Linked DNA regions of Homo sapiens: region 1 is linked to region 2. The links are contacts of gene promoters, found by promoter capture Hi-C in human tissues and cell types (Jung and others, 2019). All regions are on one chromosome and are shown on one strand. Each heading gives the region's core, a stretch centred on a gene start or on the middle of the fragment in contact. The rest is flanking DNA. Distances are from core to core; before and after follow the strand shown.

Region 1 (6,782 bases), core at 2,770-5,269, 320 kb before region 2:
AACGGCAGCTACCGTTAGAGCAGAGCACCCTGCAGGGAGCTCCTGGGTGGCTCCTCTAAACACCCACCTGCACTTCAGTGGTTTCTGTCCTCCACTCAGAGACACCATAAATCCACAGCAGTTGTGAGCAAGTTACAGCTTTCTTCTGTATCTGCTTCTTCCTGCCTCACCAATCTTTTCTCTCAACATTCCCATTACTTTCTCTCCTTTCTCCACTGTACCTGCCCATTCCCCCAATCCCAAGTTCTGTGATCATTTAAACATACAATCATCTCATGTGATTAAAAAAAAATCTGACAACACAAATAGATAATAAAAGCCGTATTTATCACCTTCCAAGATTCAACTAATGGTACTTTATTTGGTCAAAAGGAGAAACTCTTCTTCAAATCCCCAATTTATATCATAACCAATTCAATATCCATGAGGTGAGGATATATGGTCAACTTACCCAGGGGATTGGCACCAATAAATACATTCGCAAAGTTCATCTTCGGCATCTGAGTCAAAGACTGAATATAGTTTCTTGCCTGAAAAAACAAGGGTTTTCAGAATGACTTTGTTCAATAATGTTACTGCTCTCAAAGAAAGAATCTTGGTCCTGCTAAGGAACGAGTGTTAACTGACAAAGTCCACTAACTTCAGTGTTTCTAACTGTCTTTGATAGAACTTCTCCCTTACTGCCATCCTAACTTCCCTAGTTATGATCATCACCTTCTTTATTCCTGCTATCTCTCACAGTTGCATTTCAAGTGAACGAGAATGCTCATCAATCAAATTCTCTTTCATTAGCTTTCTGATCACAGGATGAGAAGTTTAAAAACTGAGGCCAAGATATGTAAGAAGTAGCCCTGAGACAGCCTTCTCAAACAGCTAAATTGGTAGAGGGGTTGGTATTCCCAAAGCAAGTCTTGGACCAGCAGTCTTTTGACAGTGCTGACTTCAGTAGGTGCTCTTAGTACATCAAAGGATATCAATATTAAACCTTGCTAACAAAGTAACGGTGGTAACAAAAAAGTTAATATAAACTTAATATAACAGTCCTACCTCACAGGGTTGGAGTGAAGATTAGAGATAACAAACCTAGTACTTTCTTAACACAGTACTTGGTTCCAAGTGACAGTTCAAGAAACATTATCTGCTATCCCACTATCACCTTCAGAAGCAAAGTCTGCTGTCTATCTTAACCACCTCTTTAAAACTCCTGTTTTAATACAGTCCAACAGTAAAAGTATGTATGTATATTTATGTTTACACATACACACACAAGTTTATAAAAAGTTCTGGTTGCCCAGGCACGGTGACTCACGCCTGTAATCCCAGCACTTTGGGAGGCCAAGGTGGGCAGATCGCTTGAGCCCAGGACTTTGAGACCAGCCTGGGTAACATGGTGAAAACTTGTCTCCAAAAATACAAAAAATTAGCCAGGTGTGGTGACGCATGCCTGTGGTCCCAGCTACTTGGGAGACTGAGGTAACAGGATCGCTTGAGCAGGGAGATGGAGCCCAGGAAGCTTGAGCCCAGGAGGTGGAGGTTCCAGTGAGCTAAGATCGTGCCACTGCACTCCAGCTGGGGTGACAGAGTTAAGATCCTGTCTTAAAAAAAAAAAAATCTGGTTGCTTGGGCAAGTTCACCTTCTTTATTTATTAAAAAAATTTTTTTAGAGACACAGTCTCTGCTCTGTTGCCTAGGCTGGAGGTCACTGGCACAATCACAGCTCACTATGGCCTCTAACTCCTGACTCAAGCAACCCTCCTGCCTCAGCTTCCCAAGTAGCTGGGACTACAGGCATGTGCTATCATGCCCTAATTTTTAAATTTTTTTGTAGAGCTGCAGTATTGCTGTGTTGCCCAGGATGGTCTCAAACTCCTGGGCTCAACTGATCCTCCCATCTCAGCCTTCCAAAGTGCTGAGGTTGCAGGTGCACGCCACCACACCCAGCCTTCCGCTTCTTAATTATTGCATGTGGAGTCAGGAGGAAAGGTCTGCTTTGAAAAGCAATTGAGAATCTTTCTGATTTGAAAAGAAAGTTTTAGGAATTGAATACATAAATGGCTGTAATCCCTTTCTACTTGAACATGTAAATAAAAAGAGGAAGGGAAAACAGGTAAGAGAGAACTATCTCATTCAGAGAACAGTCATCCCTTTAATAAAGATAAATCAAAAGACGACCTGAATATAGCTGAAGTAGAAACAAAGCTGCTGGGAAGGGCCCTCTGTGATGCCAACCTGGTTCCCCAAAATATTAAGGGTATCTTACAAAGAAAGAAGTGCCCCAATCATCTCTGATAATAAAACAAGAGTTAGACTAAGTAGTTAATAATTAATAAAGAAGGTACCTAACTGTACCAAAGTGTTTGTATTTATTCTATATTATTTGTGTATTTTCTTTTAAATATAGTACATATTAGTATTGGATATTTCAGTTTTGTTTTTAAATAAAGAATCCTCTTTTGGTCATTAAAAAAATGGATGAATTGGAAAGCATGCTAATGGACTTCAGTTAACTACCCTTCTGATAAAGGTCACGATAGTAGCACACCCTAGCTACAGGCAGAGCACCTAGAAAGAAACCGCCTCACAAGCACTAAATTCACACAACCAAATATAAAAATAACAATTTTCCATTTACAAGCTTACTAATTATATTCCCAATCTCACAGGACTGGATGACATTTTATCCCAAAAGTCAACATCTTGCAATAGCACATAGGCAGGCCTCAAGGCACATGCAAGCATCCAGTGATGTTAAGAACTGTTGGTTATACGGTGGCAATAAAATGAGAATGTGGCTTCTCAGTGCGACATCCCTGTACAGTCTCTTTGTTCTCACCTCATGGCTTGGCATCCTGTTAATGAGATAAGCGGGGGGTGTTCCTGTCAGACGCATAATCTGCTGAAGCTGGTTAATATCTTAGATGCCTAGTCAAGGGCATTGTTAAACATACAGTGCAAAAAATAATTTTCAACTCAAGTTTTTAAAAAGGTCAAAAAGCCACCCCCAAACAGACAAAAAAACCTACCCTCCATTCCCCCTACCCGAGAGCCCACAGCTGCATGCTACAGTACACTTCTGTGAATGACATGAGTAACTAGGCACGTAGCCAGTGACTGGCCATGCAGATAAGAAAAATTACTTTTCTTTGGTTTTAGCATCATCTTTACTGTTAAATATTTTAGGTTCCCTGGAAACAGACTGCCCCTTGATCCAGGATGCCAGCCATAGAACTGTTTTCAAGTACTGATGGCCAAAACCTGTTTGTGGGAGAAATATAGATGATTCCAAAAATTTTGACTCAACTTTGAACAAAATAAAATATCCAACATATCCATTCAAGGAAGAGACTAAACTTTTGCGGCACAGGTTCTCCAAGGCACCATCCCTCCGAATTAAGACACACGTGGGCATCTGGGTTAATAAGCAATGCCACATTTCAAAGACATTAGTTAGTGGTACATTTAAAATACTTGCCACAAACACAAAATGGTAAATGAAGAAAGAGGAGAAGAGGAGAAGGTTAGAGGCTAATGGCAAAGGCAAAACAGAAGTCACAGGCTGCTGAGAGTGTTAAAGCATGCCACATGATTTCCTCCACAAGTCTCTTCAACTAGCGAACAGACTAACCTCATTTAACAAACAGCTGGAGGGAAGTCTGCAGAATACTCTGCAAGCATCTGATAAGGGCAGAACTATGAGATTTTCTATATGTATAGGCACATATGTAAGCTGTACTACAACTTCTCTCTTTTAACTGTTCCATCAATGTTAATACAACTCACCCTCTTCTAAAATGTCAGAACTGTTTATCATGTTCCTACTAAGAGCAGAAGTGATGAGATTTTAAAAATATTCAATGTAATTCAATAAACCCCTTTTCTAGTCCTGTTCTTGTTAACTACTAATTCCCTCATTCAGGTGAAGTGTCATCTTTAATAAGCACCATGGCCAAGCAATTTTACTTCATGGCTTTCCCAAATAATTTTTCTACTTTAGCTCGTCCTCTGAACTGAACTCCCTAGTGGTCAGATGACTTAGCAGTAATCTGTTTAAGGCTGGCCACAGGGAGGGAGCTAGAGCCATGTGCTCCACGCTGCCTTTTACGCTCCCTAAGCCCAAAGACAGAGGCCAGTAAATTCCAAAAGGGGATAGGAAATACACTTTGATTTGCGGTCCTTTTAAGAAACGTTAACAGATCCATACCAGATGATGGAATTCTTTATTTTGTTAGGAGTACAGATAACAGAATTTAGAGTTACCTTTAACAAATCACATAACAAATGATACTTTTCATGCCAAGGGAAATAACAAAAAGGGGCCACAAAGTAAACCAGCAATAGCAGAATACCAGTTGGGTCTTAAAATGTAAAAATCCTCCACTTCCCCTTTCTTTCTGTGAATGATACCTGGCCTGCACATTTTCTGTCTTTGTCTCCTTTAGTCAAAGAGGTTATTATATCCCCTTTCTGTCAAGAAGTTAGAAAGATTCTATTTCTGGAGGAAAATGTGAATGAGTCAGGTCTTCGCTTTTTTATCTAATTTAATTAATTAGTTTATTTATTTTTAAAGACAAGGTCTTGCTCTGTTGCCCAGGCTGGAGTGCAGTGCATGATCACCACTCCCTGCAGCCTCAAACTCCTGGCCTCGAGTGATCCTCCTGCCTCAGCCTCCCAAAGTGCTGTGATGACAAATGTGAGCCACTGTGCCCAGTCTGCTTTTGCTTTCTTAATATGATTTTCTTGTTCTTTCACTGATTATTATAGATACTGGGACATTAACCAAATGAATTCTCTGTCCTTGGCCTCCATCACAACCCATTTATACCTTTTCCTATGGCTCATTCTAATAGGTTCTAAATCCATTACTGCATTCTCTTACTCGGCATTCAATTTCTTCATAATTATTGCCATCACTACTTCACTACTTTTCAGGAGAATGAAAACAGCTGTTGGCTATTTACTGCACTCCTTCACTAATGTCTTTTTTCTTTTTTTAATTTTTAAAATCTCTGAACAATTTTACTCACCTGGCCTTATTTTTCCATTCTGTTCCCATACATCATGCGCTTTTAAGATAAACAGGTACTTGGGCCGTGTCACGAACATCAAATTAATCTTGTCTACCCCTTAGGATGTTTAAACTACTTTTATCCACTCACCCCAATTATGTAGGAAACAAACCAAAAAAAAAAACCTTTCTTATTCTTATACTCAATATAATATTATTTGAGTTAAGTTCTGTATTCTGGTACTCAATTTCAGTAGAGCTGTTGAAATGTATAATGTGCCTCATTTCACAGAGAGACCTCCATTATTAGGCTGTGCACTCATTGTTTCTTTCTTAAAAATAAGTGATGGATTAATGACAGATAAATACTATTGACTATTTTACCTAGACTTTGGTTTGAATTCCTAATCCAATTCCAAATGACTAATAGCACGTATCTATAGGGCAGATGGTTGGGATGGAAGAGAAGACTAAGAAAGGGCTGCTAGGAGACACTCTCAGGAAGGAAATGAATTTGCTTGGTCTCATTAGCACTATTTATTAATTGAGCTCCTCCCTCTGCCCTTAGGTCCTCTTACTGTAAGACAGTGTTTCTAAGCAAAAACATTAAAAAAAAAGTACTGCTCTTTCTAAGCATCATCTGATATCTTTGATTCACTCTAATTCAGCTTCTACATATCATAAAGGAGAAAAAAATACCTCTTTAGGTTGACATTGTGGTAACACTGACAATGACTTTCAAAATAGTGTGTAATCACATGGGATTATAGTTTGGATCATGTTATCAGAACATCTGGGATCTATACTCAGCTCTGCCACGTGATTCAGTGCATGACATGGAAAAGTCACTGCCCTTCTGGGCTTTTGCTTCTTTATCTTAAATAAGTAAATGAAACAAATTCAGAGTGGAGGTTCAGAAATACACTGGGCTTTGGGATCCTTTCAAGAAATGTACCGGATACATACCAGATGACGGTATTCTTTATTTTGTCAGGAAGATGATGAACGGTTCCAACTCACCTGCTTATGCTTGCCTCAAGCTACCCAGCCATCTTCCCAACTAGGCAAAGGGCCCCTTCAGTCATAAATGTTGGGAGGAGAATCCAGGAAGGCATAACTGGAGCTTGGCTCCATAGCTCTTTTTTTCTTTTGTTCAACTGCCTGGCAGCAGATCGAGGGAAAAAGAAAAGCTGGGCTTTCATGGCTTCTCTCATGCCTCTGGCCCAAGAAAATGACCAAGAGCAGGAAATCATAGCAAAAGTAAGCCAGACTCACATTCCCATGGCTTCTGTCTAAGTCCCTGCTTAGAAGCAAGAAAGCACTAGTTCCAAACTCTGTCTCAGGTTATCTAACTTATAATTACAAGGCAATAGGAGGAAAATTTATAACCACATTCCTGTGTATCTGAGGTATCAGGAGTGAAGCTGTTTCTTCTGAGTGGGGTCTAGGGACTGGGTAGAAAGGTCCCTCTGTTGGGAACAAACATTTTACATAGGATATGTGAGTATCTATTCTAAAACAATAAAAAATAACTTCTGGGAAGGGGCAACAGTGTGCAGACAATGTACATTTTATTCTTTTAGTGATTAAGTTAAACTAAATACATGGTGAAGCTCATGCTCTGAGAACAAACACTAGAAACAGTGAAAAGAGCTCTAGAGCATACGTGAAACTTCTGAGAAAGAAGAAAGTCAGGTCTTGAGGACAGAGACACAAAGTTTACATTAATCTCTTGGAATGAATTAGAATCTCAAATCTCATTGCTTTACTGGGATAC
Region 2 (7,224 bases), core at 4,107-6,606:
ACGGTGAAACCCTGTCTCTACTAAAAATACAGAAAAAAAAATTAGCTGGGCGTGGCAGTGGGTGCCTGTAATCTCAGCTACTCGGGAGGCTGAGGCAGGGGAATCGCTTGAACTCAGGAGGCTAAGTTTGCAGTGAGCCGAGATTGCCCCACTGCACTCCAGCCTGGGTGACAAAGCAAGACTCTGTCCCAAAAAAAAGAAAAAGAAAAAGAAAAAAAAAAAAAACACCTGCAAACCCTTCTCACACCACCACTCCCACAGCTCGATTCTTATTTTCCCTTTCCTTGCTTATCACCTGAGATAGATGCTATTATTAATAGCATCTATTGTAATGTTTTACTTCTTTGCCTCACACACTAGAGTGACAGCTCTACAAGGGCAAGGATTTTTATCTTTCTTGCTCACAGCCCTATCACTAAATGTAGAAAAATAATTTACATATAGTAGGTGCTCAATAAAAATGTGTTGCATGAGTGAATATCTGTCTCCCTTACCACATGTGCGCATGGGCAGGGGGGCTCTCTCACATTCACCTCTGTGGCAGCAGCACCTGGCACTGCCCTGGCACAGCTTCCAGGACCAGGTTGTTCTCTCTTTCCTCCGAGACATCTTCCACCCAACACTCCCTGCTGCCCCCACTTCTGGCCTTCTCCCACACTAGCCCCCATGCCCGCTCACCTCCCCAAATAGTACAGGCCTTAGGACAGTGGAGGGGGAGGTGACTGCACTCTCCAGCTTTCTTACCAAAAGGTTGTATTTTGTTGGAGAAAGTGAGCCCCTGGTGAGGAGGAAGAGAAAGAAGAAGAGAAGGAACAGCAGCAGCAGCCATTGGGGTAGCATCATGGCCCACAGGTCGTGGTGGCTTTTCTAGGGTCCAGCGAAATATCCTGCACGCCGACCATGTGGGTGTCCTCCCAGCTGTGGGAACACCATGTAAAACCAGCACCCAACCCCGTCAGAATTTTCCCATCCTGCACAATACTCAGGCTAGGCCAATCAGCAAATTCCACCACAATAATTAGTTCAGGCAGACTAAGCCAATCCAATCAGAACCGATCTTAGGATGTTTGCTGAAAATTGTGGAACAGAGATGTTTTCTTTCTCTGAAAGGCACAGTATTGATGTACATGGTGGATTTGTGGTTAAGAGCCTGGCCTCTGGGGCAGGATTGTCTGGGTTCAAGTCTCAGTTCCAACCCTTACTTTAGGAGCCTCGATACCCTGTTTGTAAAATAGGGATAATTATAACACCTACTATAGCCCTGTTGTGACAAAAAGATGAGTCAATACAGTTAAGAAAGCACTTTGGGCCAGGCGCAGTGGCTCATGCTTGTAATCCCAGCACTTTGGGAGGCTGAGGCAGGAGGATCACTTGAGCCCAGGAGTTTGAGACCAGCCAGGGCAATACAGTGAGGCCCTGTCTCTATTAAAAAAAAAAAAAGAAAAAGAAAAAGAAAAAAAATTGGCCGGGCATGGTGTCACACACCTGTAGTCCCAGTTACTTGGGAGGCTGACGTGGGAGGATCTTTTGAGCCCAGGGGGTTGAGGCTGCAGTACGCTGCGATCGAGCCACTGCACTCCAGCCTGGGTGCTGTCTTAAATTTTTTAATTAAATGAAAAAGAAAGCACTTTGCACAGTGTCTGGCACATAGGAAGTGCTCAATAAATCCTACCTGTTATTAGGTGACACCTGGAATGTTTGTGACTACTGGGAAGGAATTCAGCCTGAGAGCTGCTGGCTCTGGCCCTACCTAAGGGTTGCCTGACCTCTGGACTTTCATTTCCCATCACCAGTAAATCCCCTCCTCACCTAGACCAATTTGAGTTGGTTTTTAAGATACTTGCAGCAGAAAGAGGCCTCACTGCTACCCCAATGATATGACCTAGGGCAAGTCATGTCGCTTCTCTGGGCCTCAGTTTCTTTGTCCATGCAGTGAACCGACAATACCTGAGAGAGCGGAGGCATCCATGCACCAGGTCCCTTTCCCACCACAGGCATTTCTGCATTTATACTTTGCACATTCTCACCAACTCTCTAATGATCTCTACCCTTTTGTGCCCCACAACCCGCCCCGCAAAACATTCAGATACCTCCACCTAGTCTCTCCCTACCACACACCCCTCCATAGGCACCCCAACATACACTCTCCAGGTACATTCCTCAATCCCGTCTCTCCCACACAGCCCTCCAACCAGAGAATCAGCCCTTTCCCAGACCCAGCCCCTGCTCCACCACACCCTCCCTGTGCCATTCCCTTCCTGCAGTTCTACCCTGACCTCCGGACAGGGCCAAATCCCATTAGAAGCTCATTCATGCCTCCAGTCTCCCCTTTTGCCTGCCCCCTGGACTGGTACAATCTCCACCAGGTCCCCTCGCCCAGAAAGTACAGACAGAGGCCAAGGACAGGAAGTGACTTTAATGTCTCAGGAGCTGGATTTGGAGCAAGTTGGTGGCAACCAGGGCCTATGGCCCCAAGGGAGCAGTGACCAGCCTGCATCTTCCTCTAAATCATATGGCACCGGCGGGAACACATCAAGTCCTTGGATATGCACGTCAAGCCCATCCGGCAAGGGCAGATGATGTTGGTAGCTCCCTTGGTCTGCAGGGAGTGGGTATGAGAATCGGGAGTCACCAGGATGCAGGAAGGATGGGGACTTAAACTTCTTGGGGACCAGAACCAAGAGTACCAGGCCTGGAGTAAGACAGACCTGGGCTGTCTCTACAGCTTATAACTGCGTGACCTTCAGCAAGTCAATGAACCTCTCCAGCTCGGTTTCCTCATCTGTCAAATGGGGACAGTAATAGTAACCCCCCTCATAGGGTTGTTGTGAGGACTAAATGAGATAGAGCAGATCAAGTGGTGATAATAAAAAGACCCTTTAGGCCATGCGCGGTGGCTCACCCCTGTAATCCCAGCGCTTTGGAAGGCCGAGGCGGGTGGATCACCTGAGGTCAGGAGTTTGAGACTAGCCTGGCCAACATGGTCATGGACTAATAATATAAAAATTAGCACATGCCTGTAATCCCAGCTACTCCAGAGGCTGAGGCAGAGGAATTGCTTGAACCCAGGAGGTGGAGGTTGCAGTGGGCCAAGATCACGCCATTGCACTCCAGCCTGGGCAACAAGAGCAAAACTCTGTCTCAAAAAATAAAAAAAATAAAAACCCTCTAGCCACTTCAGCTATAGGGTCAGGCCATGGTAGGGGCCCTGCTGCTTCCTTAGGGCATTGGCAACTCCCCACACAGGGACATAGAGGCTGGGTCCATCCATCCTAGAAAGGTTTGGGCCCAGGGCCAGGTGGGCAGGAACAGGGCGTACTGAGCATTCTGCTCCCTGCATTCCTAAAAGCGAGTGACAACCATGCTGGACTGCACACTCTCCTTGCCAGGACCACATAATCTTCCCAACAGCCTGGTGGGGTAGGTACTTTAGCCTCTCCTTGTAGATGAGGAAACTAAGGCTCAGAGAGCCATGATGACCTGCTTGAAGTCACAAAGATAGGGTGTGGAAAAGTCAGGATTTAAACTCAGGTCCAACTGCAAAGCTGTGGTCCTGCCACTGCAGTGCCATGCTCCTCTCAAGAAATCATGTCACTGTGGCAGGGAGATGGGGACTAGTAAGGGGAAGGTCATTTCCTACTTACCCTGCCTCAGTGGTGTGAGAGAAGAGATATTCATTCATTCAACAAGCATTTATTGGCCGGGCACGGTGGCTCATGCCTATAATCCCAGCACCTTGGGAGGCCGAGCCAGGTGGATCACCTGAGGTCAGGAGTTCAAGACCGGCTTGGCCAACATGGCAAAACCCCATCTCTACCAAAGATACGAAAATTAGCCAGGCATAGCGGTGCACCCCTGTAATCCCAGCTACTCGGGAGGCTGAGGCCCAAGAATCGCTTGAACCCAGGAGGCAGAGGTTGCAGTGAGCCGAGATCATGCCATTGCACTCTAGCCTGGGTGACAGAGCGAGACTCCATCTCGAAACAAACAAACAAACAACAATAAGCATTTATTGAGCACCTACTATGTGCAGATACTAAGCTGGGGGTAGGTGCTTCATAGATGAATATGATGCGATCCCTGCCCTTGAAGAGTTCCAACCACTGGGAGAGGCAGAGAAAAGACATGGCCAGTTAGGGAGATACATGGTCTGCTGAGGGTCTGACCCCAGGGTACAGGAGCTCCAAGGAGGGAAGCCTTCTCAGAGGAGGTGGCTGGAGTTGTTTTGCACCATGAGTAGGAGTTTGCCAAGTGGAGAAGAAGAAGGGCACTCCAGACAGAGGTGAAAAAACAGGTGGGGCCAGGTGTTTTTTTTTTAACCTCCCTGCCCGCTTCTCTACTTGCCAGAAGTTGCCCCATACTAGGGCCTCACCTGGGGCAAGCAGATCATGGTTATTCTGGCCCTGGGGGCACAGAAGGCTCCACCGGAGTCCAAGTCCATGAGGCAGCAGCCACTGTAGCACTCAGAGTGGTGGAAGCACCTGTCTGTGATTTTCTGTGGGGACAGGCAGAATGTCTGCCAGGCTGGGAGCAATCCCTGAGTCGTGTGGGCGGGTAGGGGAGGGTTCCCACCATTGCCAAAGAGCCCAGGGATCCAGGAGAAGTCATGAGGTTGTCACCCCTTGGGGGGCTGGTTCCCCCCCCAGCCCCACCCCGGCCCCTCAGCAGGACCCAGGGCAGCAGAGAGGAGGAGAGGGGGATTAGCACTTTTCCCTCGGCCTCTCCTTTCCTGGACCCCCCTCACCTCCATGAGTCCCATGGGGTGTGTACTCTTAAGTCCCATTTTGCGGGGCAGGGTTGGGGGATGAGAATGAAGGGGCTGCGGGCTCGAAAAAGAGGGAGAGAAAGAGGAGAAAAGGGGAGAGCCCTCGTGCCTGGAAGAATCACTAGACAGTGAGAGGAGGTGGAAGAAGAGGAGGAGAAACCAGAGCATGCAGGGTGGGTTTGCCTGTGAGCAGTTTGGGGAGGGAAGCGAGCCCAGGACTGAGGCCATCGGAAGGGGCACGGGCGGGGGAGGTGGAGGGAGCGAGGGTGCTGGTCATAGGCCAATTTCTCTCCCCTCTGAGGCCACCAGGGGAAAGTGAAGCGGCTTTTGAAGTCCGTCTGAGGATGCCCCAGGCTACCCGCCTGGGTGTGGTTCCGGACCCACCTCTCCCTTTCAGGCTGCCCGGCGCCTTCGGGCTCCAGTGCCCCGGCGGCGGGGCCACCCTCTCCTGCGGTCGCGGCCGGCTGGGCGCGCTCCCCGGCTCACCTTTTTATATTGCGGAAGCGCGCTCCAGAGGGGCAGCACCGCCCCCGACAGGACCCCCGCCACGAGCGCCAGGGCTGCGGCCATGGGCCTGGGCGGCAGAGCAGCGGCGGGGTTCCGAGGGGCCGCGGGATAAAACCTCTTCCCCGGCCACGTGACCCGGCGCCCCAGGCCACCCCGGCGGAGGAGGGACGTGGAGGGCGAGGACGCCTGCGGAAGGGAAGGAGGGAGGAAAGGCGCTCAGGCTCGCACGGGCGGGATTCCAGACTGTAGGGGCCCTGGGAGCCTCCATACGTGTTACTTCCAAGTAGAAGCTTGAAACTGTAAGATAAAACTCTATTTTTATTGTAAGATAAAACTCTATTTTATTGTATTTATTTATTTTACAGACGGAGTCTCGCACTGTCGCCCAGTGCAGTGGCGTGATCTCGGCTCACTGCCATCTCCGCCTCCCAGGTTCAAGTGATCCTCCTGCCTCAGCCTCCCGAGTAGCTGGGACTACAGGTGTGCGCCACCACGCCGGGATAATTTTAAAAATTTCTGTAGAGACGGGGGTCTCCCCATGTCGCCCAGGCTGGTCTCTAACTCCTGGCCTCAAGTGATGGTCCTGCTTCAGCCTCCCAAAGTGCTGGGATTACAGGTGTGAGCCACCGCACCTGGCCTCAAAACTTTATTTTTATAAACGGCACAAAACATATATGCTGAAATAAAAAGAGCTTCCTTCCTGATGTTGATTCTCTGTCTGCCCTTGCAGCCCCAGATTCTCCCCTTACCTTCGGGATAATCCAGCCCCACCCTCTGGGCTGCTCACACCCGCTGCAGGCCCCATTCTCCTCTTCTGTAAGAACCAGGAGGTGGGACAAGATGGTCTCTAAGTCTTAAATCTCTTGCAGTCTTAATCATTCTATTAATTGTCTAAGGATTTGTCTGTGAATTGTGTGAAAGTCAAGATGTGGGGGCAAAATGGAGAAGTGGGAAGAGAAGAAAACTCAGAATAGGGAGGAGGGTTAAGGGAGAGCTAGAGCTGCACAGAGCAATCCTGGAACCGGGGGAGGCAGGCCTTCCTCAGGACTTCCCTATGGATGAAGCTTCCACCTCACCCCACCTGCCTGCTTCTGCTTTTTTTTAATTTCTATTTTTTTTTAATTTTGTATTGTTAATATTTGTTATAGAGACAGGTTGTCCTTATGTTGTCCAGGCTGGTCTTGAACTCATGGGCTCAAGAGATTCTCCTGCCTCGGCCTCCCAAAGTGGTGGGATTACAGACGTGAGCCACCACTCCCAGCCTGCTTCTGCTTTTGAAGTTTCGCTTAAGAAATGAACCGAGGAATCCTGTCTTGGTGGGGAATAACAGCCAAGAATAACAGCCCCCACCGCACTCAGAGGGCCTTGTATCCATTATTTCCGTGAGCCCTCCCTGTATTAACACTAGCTGTCACAGAGTAATTAACACTGGCTGTAACAACAGAACTCCTGGAATTTCGTGGCTTGGCACAATAATGCTTTATGTACAGTCTGATTTGGGGCAAGATACCCTTCTTCCATCCTGTAGCCATCTATAAGACTGGCCTCTGGCTGGGCATGGTGGCTCATGCATGTATTCACAGCACTTCGGGAGGCCAAGGAGAGAGGATCAGTTGTTTTGGGGGTTTTTTTGGTTTTTTTTTTTTTTTTTTTTTTTTTTTTTTTTGAGACAGAGTCTCACGCTATTGCCCAGGCTGAAGTGCAATGGCACAATCTCGGCTCACTGCAACCTCCGCAAAGTGCTGGGATTACCAGTGGGAGTCACCATGCCCGGCTGAGAGGATCTCGTGAGCTCAGGAGTTCAAGGCCAGCCCTGGGCAATATAGTGAGACCTCATTGCTACAAAAAAAATTTAAGAAATTAGCCAGACATGGTGGCACATGCATGTAGTCCTGGCTACTCGGGAGGCTGAAGCTGCAGTGAGTTATGATCGTGCCACTGCACTCCAGCAT

Evidence for each region. Contacts are between HindIII fragments. The study calls those that stand out against the background at their distance.
Region 1: a contact is called between a fragment that was not itself captured here and the fragment with the promoter of CLPSL2 in region 2, in 1 of the 25 tissues and cell types used here (IMR-90 fibroblasts).

Annotation. Positions count from the first base shown.
Region 1 is chr6:36,096,319-36,103,100 of GRCh38, reverse strand. MAPK14 (mitogen-activated protein kinase 14) reads right to left here. Exons shown (of 12, transcript NM_139012.3): 10 at 452-530. Among named protein-coding and RNA genes, the nearest start is that of MAPK13, 31 kb to the left of the region's middle. The HindIII fragment of the contact is 3,890 bases long and covers 2,075-5,964 here.
Region 2 is chr6:35,774,730-35,781,953 of GRCh38, reverse strand. It overlaps CLPSL2 (colipase like 2), which reads right to left and starts at 5,356. Exons shown (of 3, transcript NM_207409.4): 1 at 5,252-5,356; 2 at 4,373-4,495; 3 at 2,402-2,599. The coding sequence starts at 5,335. The coding sequence ends at 2,504. CLPSL1 (colipase like 1) reads right to left here and starts at 935. Exons shown (of 3, transcript NM_001010886.5): 1 at 745-935. The coding sequence starts at 843. RefSeq lists a silencer at 5,246-5,375. The HindIII fragment of the contact is 15,017 bases long and covers 1-5,949 here.